3 separate regions of the Homo sapiens genome follow, and all the other regions are linked to region 2. Evidence: promoter capture Hi-C in 16 types of primary human blood cells and fetal thymus (Javierre and others, 2016). All regions are on one chromosome and are shown on one strand. Each heading gives the region's core, a stretch centred on a gene start or on the middle of the fragment in contact. The rest is flanking DNA. Distances are from core to core; before and after follow the strand shown.

The links. The method cuts DNA at HindIII sites, captures the fragments that hold promoters and counts their contacts. A CHiCAGO score of 5 or more calls a contact.
Region 1: a contact is called between the fragment with the promoter of CARMIL2 here and the fragment with the promoter of PDP2 in region 2, in 1 of 17 cell types (M0 macrophages). The highest score is 5.3, in M0 macrophages.
Region 3: the fragment with the promoter of HSD11B2 here is called in contact with the fragment with the promoter of PDP2 in region 2 in 6 of 17 cell types (total CD4 T cells, naive CD8 T cells, erythroblasts and 3 more); the score reaches 7.3 in total CD4 T cells.

What each region holds. Positions count from the first base shown.
Region 1 is chr16:67,643,777-67,646,700 of GRCh38, reverse strand. CARMIL2 (capping protein regulator and myosin 1 linker 2) reads right to left here and starts at 1,557. Exons shown (of 38, transcript NM_001013838.3): 1 at 1,415-1,557; 2 at 1,070-1,161; 3 at 924-977; 4 at 621-683; 5 at 391-515; 6 at 184-275. The coding sequence starts at 1,454. RefSeq lists a silencer at 1,474-1,863. The HindIII fragment of the contact is 10,344 bases long and covers 1-2,924 here.
Region 2 is chr16:66,879,216-66,881,931 of GRCh38, reverse strand. PDP2 (pyruvate dehydrogenase phosphatase catalytic subunit 2) reads right to left here and starts at 1,417. Exons shown (of 2, transcript NM_020786.4): 1 at 1,292-1,417. RefSeq lists a silencer at 964-1,143 and enhancers at 603-1,375, 1,624-1,703. The HindIII fragment of the contact is 2,608 bases long and covers 386-2,716 here.
Region 3 is chr16:67,429,819-67,432,518 of GRCh38, reverse strand. HSD11B2 (hydroxysteroid 11-beta dehydrogenase 2) reads right to left here and starts at 1,398. Exons shown (of 5, transcript NM_000196.4): 1 at 1,006-1,398. The coding sequence starts at 1,270. RefSeq lists silencers at 1,280-1,459, 1,680-1,729. The HindIII fragment of the contact is 16,145 bases long and covers 1-2,700 here.

The DNA.
Region 1 (2,924 bases), core at 308-2,807, 760 kb before region 2:
AGGGGTGCGATGTGGAAAAGGAGAGAGACAAAACATCAGCGATGGAGGAAGACCAGACCCACAGACTAGGTGGTGGCTGGGACCTGAATGGCTCTGTTCAGTTTGGGGCCCCCCCAGCTTGCGGGTCTGGGGAGGCAGAGGTGGGGCAGGCTGGAAGGCCTGTGGCTCTGCCTTCACCCTTACCACAGGGGCTGCAGGGGTCAGTGGACTCCGAGGGGCTGCTTCTCTCCAGCCGAGCCAGCATGGAGGCTGGTGTGGGCCTCCGGAATAGCTTCCTGGTAGGGGGTTAAGGAGAAGGGGGCAAAGGACTTCCAGCCTCTGGGATGGGAAGCAGCCCTTCTCATGCACTCCCTCCTCCCCTGCCAGCCCCTCGAATTTGCCAGGCCTCACCCAAGGGTCGAGCGAGGGAAGACCTTCTTGATGGCTGCAGCCACGTGCTGGGCCAGCTGTTCCAGGGCGGCCACACCAGGAAACTCCAGGACCAGCTCACGCAGGGACTCCAGCTCAAAGGTGACCTAGGGAAGGGGCACTACTAGGCCTCGGCTCCACACATGGGCGCAGGTGATGGTGGTAGCATGAAGACCAGGCTGCAGGCCCAGGTAGGGTACTAGGTGTCTCACCTGAGGGGGTGTCTCCTGCAGCGCCATGGCCTGGACCTCCAGGTAGCTGAACGTGCAGTCCACCTAGAAAGGGCCTAGATCAGCTGGGACCAAGCCCCCAGCCCCGCCCTCATGGAAGTCCAGTCCTTTGGGCAGCCTGGGGCAGAGCCAGATCTGCCTGGACTCCCCTCCTGTCGGCTGCCCAGAGCCCAGTGCTGGTGCAAAGTCAGGGCCCACAAGGCCAAGAAGGACCACTCTGCAGATGCAGCCCCCTGCCAAGGTAGCTGCTGGCGGGCGGGGGTGTGGCCAGGCCCTGGGACTCACCCTCAGCGGGAGGCAGGTGGTGTGCAGCAGGTAGGCTCTCCATCGTAGCAGTGCCTGGGGAAAGACAGTCTGATATCCTGGGCAGAGCAAGAGGCTCTTTCTGTGGGGCCACAGCCGCCTCCCCGGCTCTGTCCCCTGCCCCATACCAGGACATGGTTTTGCACAGCACCCTCCCCGGGTAGCCAGGTTTTCAGCAGCAGCTCCACCTCTTTGGGCCACAGGAACCTGGTGATCTCGCCTGTGGAAGGGCAGCCTGCTGGGTGACTTCAGTCCTTGCACAGAAGCCACTGGTGCCCACAGTCTGTGCCAGGCTGGGGCCCTGGGGCTTATCTGCGGCCAGCGAGGAAGGAGGGGAGAGGATCTGGGGCGCCTGCCCTCCTGGGGAGCAGGGAGGACCTCTGACCAGGCCCTCTGGGGCGCTGGGTGGGCCTCTGATTTTGGGGCTGCACTACTTCCTCCCGGCCAAGAAGGCAGGAAGGGCCAGCGCTTACCTCGGAGCTCACAGGAGATGCCGTCGGGGGTCTGGGCCATGGGCCGGGCGGGCCGGGGAGGCCCAACGAGCTCCGGCGGGAAACAGCAGAGGACGAGCGCGCACACAGGAAGCCTGGGGCCCAGACCCGCACGGCAGCCACCTGCTCCTCCGGCGGCGGAAGGTGCGCGCCGCTTCCTGCCAGGCCGCCCCCGGCCCGGCCCCTCCCCGCCCCGGCCTCGCGGCTCGAGAGCTTGCCCGGGAGCGGGGTTGTGGGAGGGGGGCCGAGTCCCACCTGCCCGCCCGCCCCGTCGCCCAGGAGCTTCTCCGCCAGGGTAGACGTCGGGGTGGGCAGTGGCGTGGCCGGGAGGGTCGCGGGTGTGGCGGGCCTCCAGCGGGTCCTTGCCCCCGGCTTCCACCCCGCCCCGCAGTCCCTGCCGCGAACACCAGGGGACGCTGCCTGCCTGGGGATCCCCGCGGCCCACCGGGGCTGGTCCCCTCCAAAGCCCAGGCTGCGGAGGTGGACGAGGCGCCTGGCAGAAGGGGGACTGTTCAGCAAGGAGCGCCCGAATTCTGCCAACACCGGAGGTCCTGCCCGTTGCTCCGAACCTGGAGTCCGTGACCCTGTTAGGGATCCAAGAGATTTTGAATGGGTGGGAAAAAATGTCAGATGGGGCCAGGCGCGGTGGCTCACGCCTGTAATCCCAGCACTTTGGAAGGCCGAGGAAGGAGGAACGCTTGAGCCAAAGAGTTCGAGACCAAGCTGGGCAACATAGGGAGACCCTGTCTCTGCAAAATAATTTACAAAATTAGACGGCGTGATGGCGTGTGTCTGTAATCCTAGCTACTTGGGAGGCTGAGGTGGGAGGATCACTTGAGCTTGGGAGGCAGAGTTTGCAGTGAGCGGAGATCGCACCACTGTACTCCAGCCTGGGTGACAAAGCCAGGTCCTGTCTAAAAAAAAAAAAAAAAAACAGCCTGATGGGTCCAGACGCCCTTCCTTGCCGCAGAGGTGGGGTCAGGGCCGAAGGTGAGGGTGTACCCGGAGCCTTCGGGGGGAAGCCTGGGGCTAAGGTGAGCCCTGAACCCCAAGCACTTCATAGAGGGCCGGAGTGAGTCGTCCAGGTACATGAGGGTCTTCTTGTGTCTGCCTTCTCCCCAGGCTGGAGAGAGTTTGGGAGGGGGCAGCCAGAGAGAGAGAAATAAGCCAGTGTCTCCAGGGCTGAGAGGGGTCAGACAGTCATAGGGTGGGGCCTGGTAGCCTGTTGCCCTCTCAAAGACCAGGACCTAGATTCTGGAAAGTTCACAGGAAGAGACTGCATTTTTTTTCTTCTATTACAATCTAAACTCCACTTAAGCGGTAAGGAACAGCAGTCTACCCTGCCCATAGCTCAGCAAGGTGGAGGTGAAATGACAGCTAAGGGTGACAAGGAGGAGTCAGCTGCAGAAGATGCAGCACAGAGAGTTCCTGCTGCCTCCCCGATTGAAGAGACATACTTGGTTTGTTTGTTGGTTTTGAGATAGAGTCTTGC
Region 2 (2,716 bases), core at 168-2,667:
GGCAAGAGGATCACTTGAGGCTAGGGAGTTTAAGACCACCCTGGGTGATACAGCAAGTGCCCCATCTCTACAAAAATTTTTAGATTAGCTGGGCATGGTGGTAAGTGCCTGTAGTCCCAGCTACTCAAGAGGCTGAGGTGGGAGGATCGCTTGAGCCCAAGATTTCAAGACTGCAGTGAGCTATGATCACACCACTGCACTCCAGCCTGGGCGACAGAGCCAGATCTGTCTCTTTAAAAACAACAACAACAACAAAACCCCACCAAACTGTACTGCTTTATGCAGTAACCTTTTCTCTACTTAGGTTTTATCCTAGTTATTTCCCAAACAAGGAGTCAGTAGGTCCAAGGGTGTAGACTCATTGCCAAACTGATTTCCAAAAGCTTCACATCTGCCTCCTCAAGGGGGTGACGAGTTTCCTAGTCCCTTCACTAGCCCTGGTGGTACTTTTCCTTGGAATATAATAAATTAAATTAAATTAAATTAAATTAAATTAAATTAAAAAAAAAAAAACAGAACAAAACCTTGACCCATTATAATGAGCTTTTCATGTATGAATCCTGCCCTCGGGATCTCGAGATCATTTGTCGGGACCTCAAGAGTTCCCAGGACTGAGGACCGTCCCTTCACTCCCCCACCCCCTGCCAGCCCACCCCGCAGAAGTCGGTGCGGGGGCGGTCTGTCCGGGAGCAGAGGGCGCCTGACGCTCCGGCCCTGCAGTCAAGGCAGGCAGCGGTGCAGGGTGATACACCGCAGCCAGGACGCAAACCCTCTTGCATCCTTAAAGAAAACAGACAGGTCCCAAGTTCAAATCTCTGACTTCAGCCTCATCGCTAAGTGCATGGACTCCGGAGCCCACCAAAACCGATCTCCCTAGAACCCCGGCACGGCCGTACCCCAGCTGGGTGCCCCCGGGCGACCCGCTTGGTGCCTCTGAGCCCCGGCTTGCCAGCCTGTAAAACAGGGGCGTGCAGTCGGGACACAGAGCTCCAAGGGGTGCTCGATAGGCCAGAGCAGCTAGTGGGGTGCCCCGGTAGGCAGCCAAGGGTCCTCGGCGAGCCCGCGGGCCCACGTGGCGCGCGCACGTGAGTGGGGTGACCGTGGTCGTAGGCCCAGCTGGTCCCTCTCCGCCGCGGACCCGCCCCCTCACCTCAGCTCTCCCTCCGCCCAGTCACCTGAGCCGGTGCCGCAGGCCGGGAGGGTCAGGCGCCGGCGAGGCCTGGCGGGGAAAGAGGTGTCCACATCCCCCGCTCGTTACCTTCCCTACCTCGGACCCTCGCCCGCTTCTCACCAGCTGGCGAGGCCACAGCCGCCCGCTCCGTCCGGTCAGTTCAGCGCCTGCGCACAGTGCCACAACTGCGGCCACCAGGTCCTCACCTCACCCAGGCGGTCCCTAGTCAGGACCCAGCTCCAGAAGGAAGCGCCCTCCCGCCAGCCCTGGTTGGCTCAATTGCGGAGGCGGGCCCTTGATGGACAGAGGTATTGCCCAATGGCTAAAGAGGATGAGAGGCGGGCAGAAAGGCGGGACCCGGGAGGGGGCAACACCGCCCCTTACCCCCTGCCTGGGTGCTGAAAGTGTTCGAGCGCGGGGCCACAGGACCAGGCAGTCACGTGCCTGAGATCGCCAGCTACGTGGCCGCTACACTCTGCATACCCCGAACCCAGCGGCCTCCCCAATTCCTCACCGTTGTTAGAACACCTCACTGCTTCCTCTCCACTTCGGTGTCGACCACTCCAGAACCCTCTCTTGAGCGCCACACCCTGATGTCCAGCCACCTGGACACCTGCCTCTGGAGGCCCCCAGGCGCCTCAAACATAACTTACCCCAAACTCAGCTTTCTGCCAAACTTGCTTTTTCTCTTCTCTCCTAACCCAGTAATGGCCCCACCATCTGCCCAGAGACCCAAGCCAAAACCCTGGGAGGCATCTTGACTCCTTCCTCTCCCTCACCCTCTCTTTCCAGTTATCTAATGCTGTAAATCCTATCTCCTAAATCTCTCTCCACTCATCCATCCGGCGACGCAGCCACCCTATTCCAAGCCTCTCACTTGATTTTACGGTTTTCCCTCCTCCACCTTTGACTTGGTCCTAACCACAGAGCAGAGCAGCCAGAATGACGCCCCTCCCACCTTTTCTCGTGGTTGGTGGGTAGAGACAAGGTCTTTCTATGTTGCCCAGGCTGGTCTCAAACTGCCGGGCTCAAGCAATCCTCCCACCTCAGCCTCCCCAAAGTGCTGGGATTACAGACGTGAGCCATCACGCCTGGCAGAATGACACTTCTAAAACTCAAATTCCAAGGCCGAGTGCGGTGGCTCCTGCCTGTAATCCCAGCACTTTGGGAGGCCGAGGCGGGGGGATCTCCTGAGGTCAGGAGTTTGAGACCAGCCTGGCCAACATCACGAAACCGTCTCTACTAAAAATACAAAAATTAGCTGGGAGTGGTGGTGCGCGCCTGTAGTCCCAGCTACCTGGGAGGCTGAGGCATGAGAATCATTTGAACCAGGGAGGTGGAAGTTGCACTGAGGTGAGATCATGCCACTGCACGCCAGCCTGGGAGACAGAGTGAGAGTCTGTCTCAAAAAAAACAAAAACAGAAACAAAAACAAACCAAAAAAACCCTCAAATTCCTGCCCTAAAGTCTTTTTTTTTTTTTTTTTTTTTTTTTTTTGAGACGGAGTCTCGCTCTGTCGCCCAGGCTGGAGTGCAGTGGCGGGAT
Region 3 (2,700 bases), core at 149-2,648, 550 kb before region 2:
CTCAAGGATTTCCTCCTCCGGAAAATTCTCCCAGCCCCATCTGATCACACAGGGCCCCTACTAGACCGAGGTCTCTGAGAAGCCAGGTTGCTGGCTGCCCCAGCAAAGGCCCAGCGCAAGGACAAAGCCTGGAGCACCTGTCCAAAGCCGTGGGTATTGGCGAGAGACCAGGCTGCTCCTCCCACGATGCAATGGAGTCAGTGCCCCCTGGCCTTTCTCCCCCTCCCCACTTCCGGCGGGCCTCCAGCCCCCCCCCCCCTTCCCCTTCCCTCCCTCTGGTGACAGATTTATTCCCTGCTCCAGACAAAGGAGCTCAGCTAGGCGGCCAGAGGCACCTGAGCCCAGCTCTCTAAGAGCTCCTTCCTGGGCACAGAGGACCAGGAGGGCTTGGGGGTGGGGTGCTGGGTGTAGGCTCCAAACTACTGCCTCAGCAGTTTGGCAGTGGGTGGCTAGACAGAAAGACAGCTGAATGTCCAGCTGCCCCTCACGGTGACCTCTAGCTTTTCTGAACTCCAAGGATCCCAGCCAGTGGGGGATGGGTGGGGTGGGGAAGTTCCCCATCTAAGCTCTTCCCTCTGGCCCGAGGAATGGGAGATGGGTATCTTAGGTGGGGATGTCAGGCAGAGTTCAAGGGGTAACGATCCTCCCTTCTCAAGGCCTCCGAAGTCCCCTGAGACTGCTCTCTTGGGGAAGGGAATGGCATAAACTCTCAAACTCCAGGAGGTTCCCTCTTCTCAGCCACCAGTCAGTTTCCTTCTCGAACCGGCCCACTCCCTGTCTCACTTTCCCTCCAACACTCCCCGCAGCGGCAGGTAGTGAACCCGGGCTTGGGGAGGTGCCCGGCGCTCCCTATTTGGCTCGCTCCCTGCACCCAGGGGTGGAGAACTCTCCCACTCTTGCGCTGAGGAGCCCGCCTTGGCTGTGCCCATGGGGAGTCAGTCCTGTTGAGTGTCCAGTCCCGCCCTCGAGCCTGGAGTCCCCGCGCTCCGCGACCCGCGCACTCACCGGTGATGAGCACCGCGCGAGTGGCCACCGGCAGGCGCTGCGGGCGCGCCAGGCGGGACAACGCGATCCAGCCGGCGGCGGCCAGCACGGCGAGTGCGGCCGGCGGGGGCAGCAGGCGCTGGCACAGCCAGTCGAGCGCGGCCAGCAGCGCCAGCGCCGCCAGCAGCGGGCGGCCCAGACGCAGGTCTGAGCGCAGCAGCTGCAGCAGCGCGCGGGCAGCCACGAGCAGCCAGGCGCCGCCCGACGGCCAAGGCCAGCGCTCCATGGCGGCCCAGCGGGCTGGGGCGGGGCGGGGCGGGGGCCGGGCCGGGGAGCGGGGAGAGAGAGCTTCTAGGCCGGGGCGCGGAGTGCGGGGGTACACCGGCCTGGGGCGCGAGAGGGACACTCGCTTTCTCTGCTCGCCCTCGGGCCGAGCTTATGAAGAGCCCCGGGGGCGGGGGAGAGGGCGGGGAGCGGGAGGGGCGGGGGCGGGGCTTTCCTTCACTTCTCTCCCGGCACCCCCCGCAGGGCAGGTGCTCCCCCCCCGCCCCGCCCCCTCGACCAGATTCGATTTGGAAAAAGCCGGAACAAAGTCCCAAAGTTGCTGCGCTCGAGGAGCCGCCTGGCTGCGGGCGGTGCTTGGGAGAGGGCCCGTCGGTCCAGCCCGGGTGCCCGGCCTCAGCTCTCCGCCGCGCCCCCACCCACACGCCCGGGGCCGCCAAGCCGCCGCGCTCAGGTGAGCACATGCCACTCACGCTTGTTCGGGACACCTGAGGACACGCACAACCGGCATCCCGGTGCCCTTTGCTGATCGCACCACCGCGGCCGCCAAGCCTGCAGGAACACCGCGAGGAACCAGCCGGTGCTCACCCGGTCTCCGCTGCCGCTGCCGCTGCCGCCCGCGCCCGTACACGCGCCGCACTCCCACGTGGTCGGCTGCGCCAGGTCCCTGGCGCACACACCCTAAGGCGCGCTCACCCCTGAGCAGCTCGCGGCCACAAAACCTGCCTGGGACAGGGGCTGGCGGGGGAACAGGACGACCGCTCCCGGTTCTTGGAGTCTCTGCCCCGTCTTTCCCTTTCCTTCCAGGGCTTAAACCTGGGGACGCACAACCCCACTTCCTGCCTCACAAATGTATGTGTGTGGGGGTCAGTGGAGGGTGGGGTGTCAGAGGAAGCACCTAGGTCTCCCATTACTTATGGCCCACCCCCGCCAACCCCAAGAGCCAGGCCAGAGGGACGTCGGTGAAGGCAGCCTCTAGGACAGGGTGGTCCCTGCCTTGCTCCCCTGAACCCCCAGGGGGTAAAATAAGTGGTATGAGTGTGGGTGGATTTTTCTGCCTGCGTGTGTGAAGGTCTCCATGCTTGTGTGTGGCCCAGTGGCCCCCCACCCTGCCCACCCCCGTGTCTGGCACCCTGTGCCTAGCATCCATGCCAGGGCTCTGCCAGGCACTGGGAGTTGGTGCCAGTACCTGGCTGCAGGCTTGATGCTGAGAGCAGTAGGTGTAGCCCTCGACAGAGGGGTCCCTGCTTCCCGTGGGCTTCCAGGCCGTGCTCAGTGCCTCATCCCTGCCCTCCCAAGATCCTGGGAGGTTGTGGACTCCCTGTCACACTTCCTAGCCCTGTTGCTCATTCTCTCTTAGGTGCCCAGGCTCTGCCAGGGTTTCAGGGCAATGCCTCCTCCAAAGCCCTCTCTGCCACCAGACACAGCCCCCTG